Regions from separate parts of the Homo sapiens genome. Here region 2 is linked to region 1. The links are contacts of gene promoters, found by promoter capture Hi-C in blood cells and fetal thymus (Javierre and others, 2016). All regions are on one chromosome and are shown on one strand. Each heading gives the region's core, a stretch centred on a gene start or on the middle of the fragment in contact. The rest is flanking DNA. Distances are from core to core; before and after follow the strand shown.

The links. Contacts are between HindIII fragments. The CHiCAGO score rates a contact against its expected background, and 5 or more counts as called.
Region 2: a contact is called between a fragment that was not itself captured here and the fragment with the promoter of PHF14 in region 1, in 1 of 17 cell types (non-activated CD4 T cells). The highest score is 6.6, in non-activated CD4 T cells.

What each region holds. Positions count from the first base shown.
Region 1 is chr7:10,970,393-10,975,532 of GRCh38, forward strand. It overlaps PHF14 (PHD finger protein 14), which reads left to right and starts at 3,480. Exons shown (of 18, transcript NM_001007157.2): 1 at 3,480-3,932; 2 at 4,443-4,553. The coding sequence starts at 3,932. RefSeq lists silencers at 2,675-2,724, 3,235-3,294, 4,275-4,324 and an enhancer at 3,250-3,544. The HindIII fragment of the contact is 4,357 bases long and covers 2,898-5,140 here.
Region 2 is chr7:7,648,977-7,653,976 of GRCh38, forward strand. The region is part of intron 4 of RPA3 (replication protein A3); the gene reads right to left. All of the region lies in intron 1 of UMAD1 (UBAP1-MVB12-associated (UMA) domain containing 1), which reads left to right. Among named protein-coding and RNA genes, the nearest start is that of UMAD1, 11 kb to the left of the region's middle. The HindIII fragment of the contact is 9,583 bases long and covers 1-5,000 here.

The DNA of each region.
Region 1 (5,140 bases), core at 2,230-4,729:
AACCCTGTCTCTACTAAAATTATAAAACTTAGCCAGGGATGGTAGCAGGCATCTGTAATCCCAGTTACCAGGGAGGCTGAGGCAGGAGAATCACTTGAACCTGGGAGGCGGAGGTTGCAGTGAGCTGAGATTGCTGCCACTACACACTCCAGCCGGGGCAACAAAGCAATACTCCATCCCCCTACAGCTCCCCCAAAAAATTCTGAGTTAAGAATGCCAAGAGTAATTTATCACATACGCCTTAAAGATGTTCAGCAGAATATTATTGGAGATGCTATTATAGCCAGTTTACAACCAATAAAGACAAATTCTTTATATGACATCAAAATGTAATTTCCTTTATAAATATGGGTGCAAAAATCAACAAAATACTAGCAAACTGAATCTAGCATCTATAAAAAGATTTATACAACATGACTAAGTAGAATTTATACTAGAAGTGCAAGGTTGATTAAACAAATAAAAATCAAGCAATATAGTAATATACTATATTGAAAAAATAAAGTACAAAAATCACATGATCATCTCAATAGACAGAGAAAGAGTATTTAATAAAATTCGAAGCTCTTTCATGATAAAAACAGTTGGCAAACTAGGAACAGGAAAGTTCCTCCACCTGAAAAAGGGCATCTTTGAAAAACTATAGATAACATAAGACTAAGTGGAAGACTGAAAGTTTTCTTCCTAAAGTCAGAAACAAGACAAAGAAGTCTTTCCCTCACCACATTTATTCAACAATGTTCTGCAGGTTCTAGGCAGAGCAATTAGGCAAGAAAAAGCAATAACAAGCATTCACAAAAGGGAGGGAAAAGTTCAAGCCCCTTCATTTAATATCATTTCCTGGAAGTTGCACGTACTGTTTCTGCTGACATGCAATTGGCCAGAACTTAACTGCATAACTCCAAGCAACATCAAGAAAGTTGGTATATTATGTCTTTATTCTTTGAAAACTTATGCCCAGTTAAAATTTGGAGCTTCCATTTTTGAAGAAAAAGGAGATAATGGGTATTGGGAAACAACCAGCAGTTCTTTCCATGTTTATTGAATGCAGGTCAAAAAAAGGAATTAGGTAATTTTTTTCTTTTCTTTTTACCCTACTTTTCTTCTTCCTTTTTCCCTCCCTCTCTTCCTTCCCTCCTTTTCTCCTTCTTTCCTTCTCTTACTTTCTTTCAATACATGAATTGCAAAAGATTAATAACCTAAATGCAATATTGTCTTCTGGATTGGATCTTGGAACAGAAAAAAGGACATTAGTAGGAAAATTAGTGAAATATAAATAAAGTGTTTAGTCAACAAAACTGTACTCATGTTAGTTTCTTAGTTTTGATAAATGTATTATGGTTATATAAGATACTGATATTAGTGGTAGCTAGGTGAAGGATGTACAAAAACTCAGTATTATTATTGCACTTTTTGGTAAATCTGAAATTACTTCAAAATTAAAAGTTAAAAAAAAATGATTGCTGATATCCAATGGCCACAGGTTTGGAAAACTAGAAAGAATTCTTATCCACTCTTGGTGGTATATATATTAGTACAGACTTTTTTTTTTTTTTTTTTGAGACGGAGTTTCACTCTTGTCACCCAGGCTGGAATGCAGTGGCGTGATCTCTGCTCACTGCAACCTCTGCCTCCCAGGTTCAAGTGATTCTCCTGCCTCAGCCTCCCAAGTAGCTGGAATTACAGGTATGTGCCACCACGCCCAGCTAATTTTTGTATTTTTAGTAGACACGGGGTTTCATCATGTTGGGCAGGCTGGTCTCGAACTCCCAACCTCAAGTGATCCACCCGCCTCAGCCTCCCAAAGTGTTGGGATTACAGGCGTGAGCCACCGCACCCGGCAGTACAGTTTTTCTAGAGCAACTAGGTGTTATTTATTAAAGTAAATGAATTAATACATTTTGATTCTGAAAATCTCCTTCTAGAAATTAGTTTTACATAAACACGAATGCCAGATTTTGAATTTCTCTTTTAGATGATTCAGCATAATTGCTCCAAATAAATCTAAAAGGCTATTGTCAAACAGTGGAATATTTGGATTTATAATTTCATAGATAAGACTATCAGTCCATGATATGGTTGGTGTTTAAAGTAGAATGGAAGTGAAATTCCCAGAGTGGAGTTTTTAAAATAACCAAGTTCCTAGGATTTTAACTGGAAGAATAAATATCTGAAAGGCAATGAGGAGTATTAAGCATGGGATGCCACTTCTGCACCTTGAGAAAATGAAGTATGGAAGGATGAGTGGTTTTCATTTGAGAGGGCTGCAGGGTAACTGTTTCTATTTCAGATGAGGAGGTAAAAAGAATGGGCATTGAAAAGGAAAAATGTTTACTAAGTAGGTTATACATTTTGGAATAGAAGTTTCTATAGCACAATAGAAAAGTTTGAGAGGTCACATGGCAATGATAGTTTGGGTGAGAGTGAGGCAGGAGAATAGGGTGTGGAGGCAGGGAACCTAAGGATGTGTCACTCCGACTTCCTAAGAACTAAATTGAAAGGAAACCCCTAACTTTCCATGCCTAAGTAACAAAAGGACCAGAGGCTACTCCCTTTGCAAACCCCCACTTTTTCTGCAGGGCAGATGGGAAATTGGCTGTGGGCAGCAAATCAGACTGATTGCAGGAGAGTCTTCCTTTGCATAGAAGTATCACTTTGTAACTTCACCATCTGCAAGAAATCAAACTGATTGCAGGGGAAATCTTCCTTTGCATAGAGGTATACCACTTTGTAACTTCACCCTAGCCTCTGATTGATTGCTTTTTGCACCAATGTTTGCACAGGAGCATGACCTTTGTAACTTCACTTCAGCCTCTGGTTGGCTGCTTTCTGCAACCAATCAGACTGATTGCGCGTTACTTCATTTACATGAGGTGAGCATTAGGTGGCCAATAGGAAGCTTCTAGAGGGTATTTGGACTCAAGATTCTGTATCCGGGCCCTTGAGCCGCTGCTCAGGTCGCTTCCGTACAGAGCGTGCTTTAATTTTCAATAAGTCCCTGCTTTTGTTGTTTTGTTGCTTCATTCTTTCTTTGCTTTGCTGGGCGTTTTGTCCAATTCTTTGTTAAAAACGCCAAGAACCTGGACAACTTGCAGTCACGATCCTCTACCGGTGACAATATCATTTAAATATTGGTAGTGGCTTAAGGTAGCAAACATCCCTTTGTGGAACGTTTACTCAGTAAATCCTTAAAAAACAGATCAGAAACAAAAACTGGCCTCCCAGGGATTTGGACTCAGGAGGTGAATTAGGCGCGGAGAGGGCGGAGCCTTTGGGGTTTATGGGCGGAATTGCACAGGGTTTGGCGGGGATCTCTGCTCCGCCTTGGCACTACTCGGCTCCGCTCGCCTCCGCGCGGCTCCCTGGGCTTTCACTCGGCTCTGTTCGGCTCCTGCTCGGGAAGGGTGCGCGGGGGCGAGTCCTGCGCATGCGCCCTCAATTCCTGCTGCTCTCAGGGCTGCGCTCAGCCTCGTGTTTTCACTTCCTTTTCAGAGCTGTATCCGGGTCGCTGCTTTCCCTATTGTCTGAGGCAGCCGCCCTCGCGCTGTGCAATTTCTGGTCTTTCGTTGCTTCTGGTCCAGGCTAATAAAGTTTTTCTTTCTTTAATTTTTTTTCTTCTAGTTTTAACGGGAGAAATTAACTCCCCGGGGCCGCCGGGTTGACTGCGCTGCCTGGGCCGGAGGTCTTCTCCGGCCAGGGAGCGCTGTGGGAAGGGGCTCGAGCGGCCAGGGCCAGGCGAGGCCGGGGGGGCGGGGGGTTAGGGGACCGCGGGGCTACTCTTGGGAGCGCCCCTGTCCGGCTGGCTGCGCGCCGGTTTTAAATAGCATCTTTCGGACTTGTCTTCGCGGCCCCAGTCCCCGACCTCGGCGCTGCCTGGGCTCCTGCAGCCTCTCCCTAAGTCTTCTCCAAACGACCACCTCACGGATTCCTTAGTAAGTGTATCCGAGGCCTCTGCGGCGAGAGGTCCATTTCAGCCATTCTAGAAGTCAGGGCCGGTGGGAGCAGGGCAGGGGTGGGAGAGTCCTGCGGGAAAGCAGGATTGGTGGACCCTCGCCCTCCATGGTCCGCGGGAATGAAGCCCGCTTGTTTTATTCCCTGATTTTTGCCGTTTTTATTGACTGTTACGATGTCTAAGTGGGGGATTACGAGGAAGGTGCAGAAACATCTCGAAAAGATGAGCAAGAGGGTCAGCTTCGATTTTAGCTGGTCTGAGTTGGCGTTGGCAGCATCAGGGCTGGAGCTGCCTTTGAAACTGCCCGTGGAGCTGTCCAGCCCTCCCCACCCTGCTTCTGCACCCCAACCTTCTCCTGACCCCTTTTGCTGAGAACTCAGTTAGACAAAAATTCCTTGTGCGAGGTCATCTTTATGTTCTCTTAGCACCACAACTCTCCCCTGTGTTTGGTGTGATTATGAATGACAATGTAATTTTTTTCTCTTCACAGTGGATCGCAGCTCCAAGAGGAGGCAGGTGAAGCCTTTGGCAGCTTCTCTGCTGGAAGCTCTTGATTATGATAGTTCAGATGACAGTGATTTTAAAGTTGGAGATGCCTCAGGTAAATATTTCCTTCTCTCTTCCCCTTTCCCAGCTTTCTGGAGTTAGGCTTATTTTTAGACTTTTTAAATCGGTTTTGATTAAAATGCCAATTTTAAGTGAAAGCACGTAAACTTCATTTATTTTGTCCATTTGATTTCCCATTTTGCCTTTAGATCCTGTCACTAGACCTATAATTGCTTCTGTTTTCCTCAGAGATAATTAGCAGTCAGGGGAAGGACTTTTTCCAAAGATGCAAAAGGATTTCTCTGTTTTACACCTTAAAATATATTTATGCTTATATTATAGAGGAAAAAACTGAAAGATATCCCGAAGTAGAAAAGTATCCTGAGAGGTGTGTGGACCATTAATAGTCCCTGAGCAGGGTTCTTCTTTTTTCAGATCACTTGACAATCTCTTAGGGGAGTTTTGCTTTTTTTGTGTATTAGCTCTTTTACTAGAATAAAATTGACCAGAGTAAGAGTTGCACTTCAAATTATAGTAGGTGCTGGACCTTGTGGATTGGGCCTTTCAGATGTCTCTGAAGTATAAGTCATGCATGCTTGCTCACTATATTTAGTAATTTTAAAAACTTTTTTTAAAGGTCGT
Region 2 (5,000 bases), core at 314-2,813, 3.3 Mb before region 1:
GCAAAACCCTGTCTCTACTAAAAGTACAAAAATTAGCCAGGCATGGTGGCGGATGCCTGTAATCCCAGCTACTCAGGAGGCTGAGGCAGGAGAATCGCTTGAACCCAGGAAGTGGAGATTGCAGTAAGCCAAGATTGTGCCACTGCACTCCAGCCCGTGCGACAAGAGCGAGACTCCATCTCAAAAAAAAAAAAAAAAAAAAAGAAAAGAAAAGAATAAAAAAGGAAAGGAAATGATGTCTTATAGTTCTAGAGGCTTGGATGTCCAAGGTCCAGGGACCCACATCTGGCAGGGGCTTGTTATGAGGAAGACAGAAAGGCAAGAGACCATGAGAGAAATGTAAGGGAAGGGGACTAACTAATGCTTTTTTTCAGGAAACTACTCCCCCAATAACTTAACCCACTCTAGCAATAATGGCATTAATCCATTTATGAGGTCAGAGCTCTCATAACCTGGTTACCTTTTATAGGTCCCAGCTCTCAACACTGTTGCATTGGCAATTAAGTTTCTAACACATGAACTTTGGGGAACATATTCAAACCACAGCAGGATTAATTTCCACGTCAGTTTTTTGCTTCCTATGTGTTCTGTTTTGTTGTTATTTTTTCCTTTCTTGCCTTCTTTTGCATTGATTTTTTTGTTACTTTTTTCTTCTTTAATGTTATCAGTCTGTGTTAATTTGAATGTTATACATTCTGTATTCTTGTTGGTGGGGGGGCCCACCCTACAAATTTTAACCTGCTGCCATGGTCCGAATGTTTGTCTCTCTCCCCCCACCCAATTCATATGCTGAAATCCTAACCCCTAAGGTGATGGCATATAGTATTAGGAGGTAAGGCCTTTGAGAGGGCACATGAATTGGATTCATGCCCTTATAAAAGAGTCAGAGAGATCCCTTGCTCCTTCAACCATATGAAATTATAGTGAAAAGATGGCTGTCTGTGAACCAGAAAGTGGGCATTCATCAGACACTGAATATACTGGAGCTTTGATCTTACACTTTCCAGCCTCTAGGACTGTGAGAAGTAAATTTCTGTTTATAAGTTACCTAATTCATGGTATTTTGTTATAGCAGCATGGACAGATTAAGAAGCATGCATATTAATCTTGAAGTCGAAAGTTACTTTGGGTCAAGACAGAACCTGTAATTCCATTTACCTTTTCCCAATTTTTATGCTGTTGTCTAGAGATTTAGTTCTGTTTTGATTTCTTGTAATCCCACAATTTACGTTCTTGTAACTCTGCCTAGACATTATTATTGCTTTATGCAGTTAATATTTGCTTGAAATTACCCATATATTTATCATTTTCTTTACTTAATATTTTTACAGCTTCATCAGTTCATGTTTGTTTTTCTGAGTGTTTATTTCATTCGAGTTCTCAAAGCATAGTTTTATTATCTTTCTGTGGTATAGAATTCTAAGTGGATGGTTAATTTCTTCCAAAACTAATGTAATGATAATATTTTACTCTTGTAATGTCTGCTTTGTTTTAAATTGTGATTTTGCTGTAGGCTTACATGTCTCATTATTTGCTTGATCCTCAGTTGTAACAGGATGGTAGTGATGGCTGCAGGACAGTGTGAATGTACCTAATGCCACTAAACCGTACACTTAAAAATTGTTTAAATGATAAATTTTATGTAGTATGTTTATTACCACAGTTAATAAGTAAAACAAAGTTTAAGCTGGTTAAAGTGGCAATGTTACTTGTGCCAAACGCACCTTGATTTACTAATCCAGCCATTCTGCATCCTGAACCCAGAATGGTCCACCTAAAATATCAGACTGATCACTCTCCATCCAGTGATTTCCTCCGGCATCACTGTTAAGTCCAAACTCCTTGGCATGGCATATAAGAAAGACATTCCAGGTTCTGGCCATGGCTTACCTTTACCTTTAATGCTGTCCCTCCCCAACACTTTATTATAACCTTCACTGAGATCTTGGTTAATGTATAGTCAGATTTGTTGTACTCAGGAACCAGCAGAATCCCCATATTTGCTCTCTTAAAAGAGCATTTGTGGTACAAAAAGCCAGGTGCATGACCTTTGAGCAACCCCTCTGTAGCCAAAGAGAAAGCCCAAAGCAATACCAGAGCACATTTTTCTGGTAATATAGCAAATCAGACATTCAGAGAAATCACTCCCTGTACAGTCCATCTAAAAAAGTTGGATTAAATATTTTTAAAAATATATGGCTAAATCAATAAAAGATTTCAAAAATTACATAGAAACCAGAAAGGACAAGGATCTACAAATCCACAAAAGTATATGTTAGTACTAGAGCTAATGTTGGAGAGTTCCCTGAACCTCCTTGCAGGACTTGTGACAAGGGTGGGCTTGGCTTGTCTTTTGGCTGGGGTTTGGGGTTTATAAGGGTACAGGATGGAGGGTGTGGCAGGCCAAAAGGCAACATTTGGGTATGGAAACAGGAATGCCTGTTCCCATTTAGGGCTGTAGGTTTTCAGGCTTGAGGCTGGGGCCTTTGCCAGGGAACTGTCCTCTTCTGTCTCGTATTTTCCTGCCTCCTGTCCATATTATTTTCCCTATGGCCATTGCTTTGGGTACGTATTTTTCCATCCTCATGTTGATCTCATTCTGGTGATCTCTAATTGAAGGAGAGACTGTGTCAGATTACTTTAGTCTCCCTCACTTAACTTTTTATTGCTGGCAGCTTCTTGTTTCTGAGTCTGGTCCTGAAAGTCAGAGGGATGTACACATTTCCTGGTTCACTCAATTCCCAAAGGCTAACAGGCATTCATCATATGTGACTCTGCTGGGTGGAAATTGGGTCTTCCGAGACTCAGATTTTAAAAGGTCTGTGAGTGAGTTGAAGAATTAGGAGCAGTTTACAGTTCTTTGAACTTGAAATTCAACCTTCTTTCTTTCTTCTGCTCAGAGTTTTTCCTGTCTTGTACTCTGTTTTACAGAGTCCTCCTTGGGCAGTTACACACCATTCAAACCACTGCCCTCCTGACTCCTCCCTCTCTCCCCTTGCAAGAGCTGTGACTTCTGAATGGAAGTGGGAGAAGATCTTGTCAGGGAGGGGTAGAAGGAAGGGAGGAAATCTAGTCCTGTAAGACTTTGGGGTCTCCATGCAGTGGGATGTCTGGCAGTCTTTTTTTCTGGTAGATATAGCTCTTGTATTTTATAATTAAGCTCAGGCAGTGGGGATGGACAAAGTATTTTCCACATCTTCTTTGTGGTTCATGCTCCTGTTTTACATTGCTCGTTTGCTCACTTGGCCATTTATTCATTCCTTTGATAGGATTTCCGAGTAAAGCAGTATACTCTTGGTCGATTGTACTTCTTGGTCAATACCCATTGATCATGCAGTTCGTGGAAGTTTGACTCAGACTTTGAGATATGGTCTCTGATTTTCAGTTGATATAGTTATTACCAATTTTTTTAGTGTGTTTCTTTACATACATTTTGTTGTAAAACAGCTGGCTGTCTTGTTTACTCAGCAGTCTGAAGCAAGTCATTAGACAGCTAGCAATATTTTTGACTAGACTAGAATGTGAGTAACATTTTGCATGGTTAATGCATGGTTGATGCTGGTTTTATACAGGACTTAGCACCTTGCTTTGTGCCCATTGACATTGTGAGAGGTGGTAGAGAAGTAGGATAAAGAGGCAGGAAGTAGATTGGTTAATTCCGTGAATTTGGAGAAAGTGACTTGTCTAATTTTGTTTGTCTAGGGCCTACCACAGTGCCTGGCCAATTTTGGGCCCTCAAAAGATGTTGGTTGAATGAATTAAATAGTGAACAAACAAATGACTGAGTGTTAAAAGAAGTTTGTTCTTCAATGGGGAGGAAGTAGTAAGCCTTCTGATGATGCAGTCAGGCTATATTGAAAGTCAAATAATTTTTAGTTGGCAGTTTAGGGAGTGATTCTTTCTGGATGTTGAATGTGATGGCTTCTATTTTGTGTAAACATTAAAATGAGCGAGCAAATAGAATATTTTAAAGACCCATACTGAATAATGTTTTATTTATTTTTACATTTATTCTTGCTCCCCAGTGCTCTAGAGAGTTGTAAAGAGGTGTGACCTCACATCCCATGACTTAATTCTCCCTTAGGACATTATTTAGATGTGTTTTATGATATTTGTTTTATGTGGAGAGATGCTTTTTGTTAGAGTTGTCTGAATTCTTTTGCAGGGTGTTTTTTCATTTTCAAAATGCAACACCAAATGAAGTTGCTTCAGAAATTCTTCTTGTACAGTAGTGTTATTTACACTCAAATCAAAATGGTTTGTGGCAGTTATGCAGTTATATTTGTAACTTTCCTAAAACATATAAATGTGTCACTGTATCATTAATTTAGATGACTCAAGATGACACTAAAGGCTGTAAATTGCCTTCTTTGTCAGTGATTGAGATCCAAATGATAAATTCTTAGTGCAGTTTGTTTATAAGCTCTCAAAAAGGCAGTAATCTTATCTTCTAAACCTTATCTTCTAAGGATGCTAGTTAGCATCCTTCTTTAGGAAAAAAACTGTGGTTTTCACATGTATAGCATTACAAAAAAAACCTCTTGAAATTAAGATGTTTTCTGACTGAAGTGCATCACGCACTAGGTGATCATACCCATTCACAGAGGAGTTACAACACATTTTTTATTATTCACTGTCATTGTTCACACTGAAGAAAAGGGCAGTATTCTGAGAGTTCTCAGGTGAAGTCTGACGCTCCCAGACCTAGGGGAATGTCTTTACCTAGAGAGTGCTGCTGAGTGGTTAATGTTGAAAAAGAAGTCCCTTTCTTGTAATGTCTTGGTTCTCCACCAGGGGCGGTTTTGTCCCCTAGGAGACATTTTGCAATGTCTGCAGGCATTTTTGGTTGTCACAGCTGGGGGATAGGAAGGCACTTAGTGGGTTAAAGCCAGAGATGGTGCTAAACATGATACAGTGCTAAGGACAGCCTCCCACAACAAAGAATTACCTGATCCCAAATGCTTAGAGTGGAGAGATTGAGAAACCTTGGTCCAATGTAA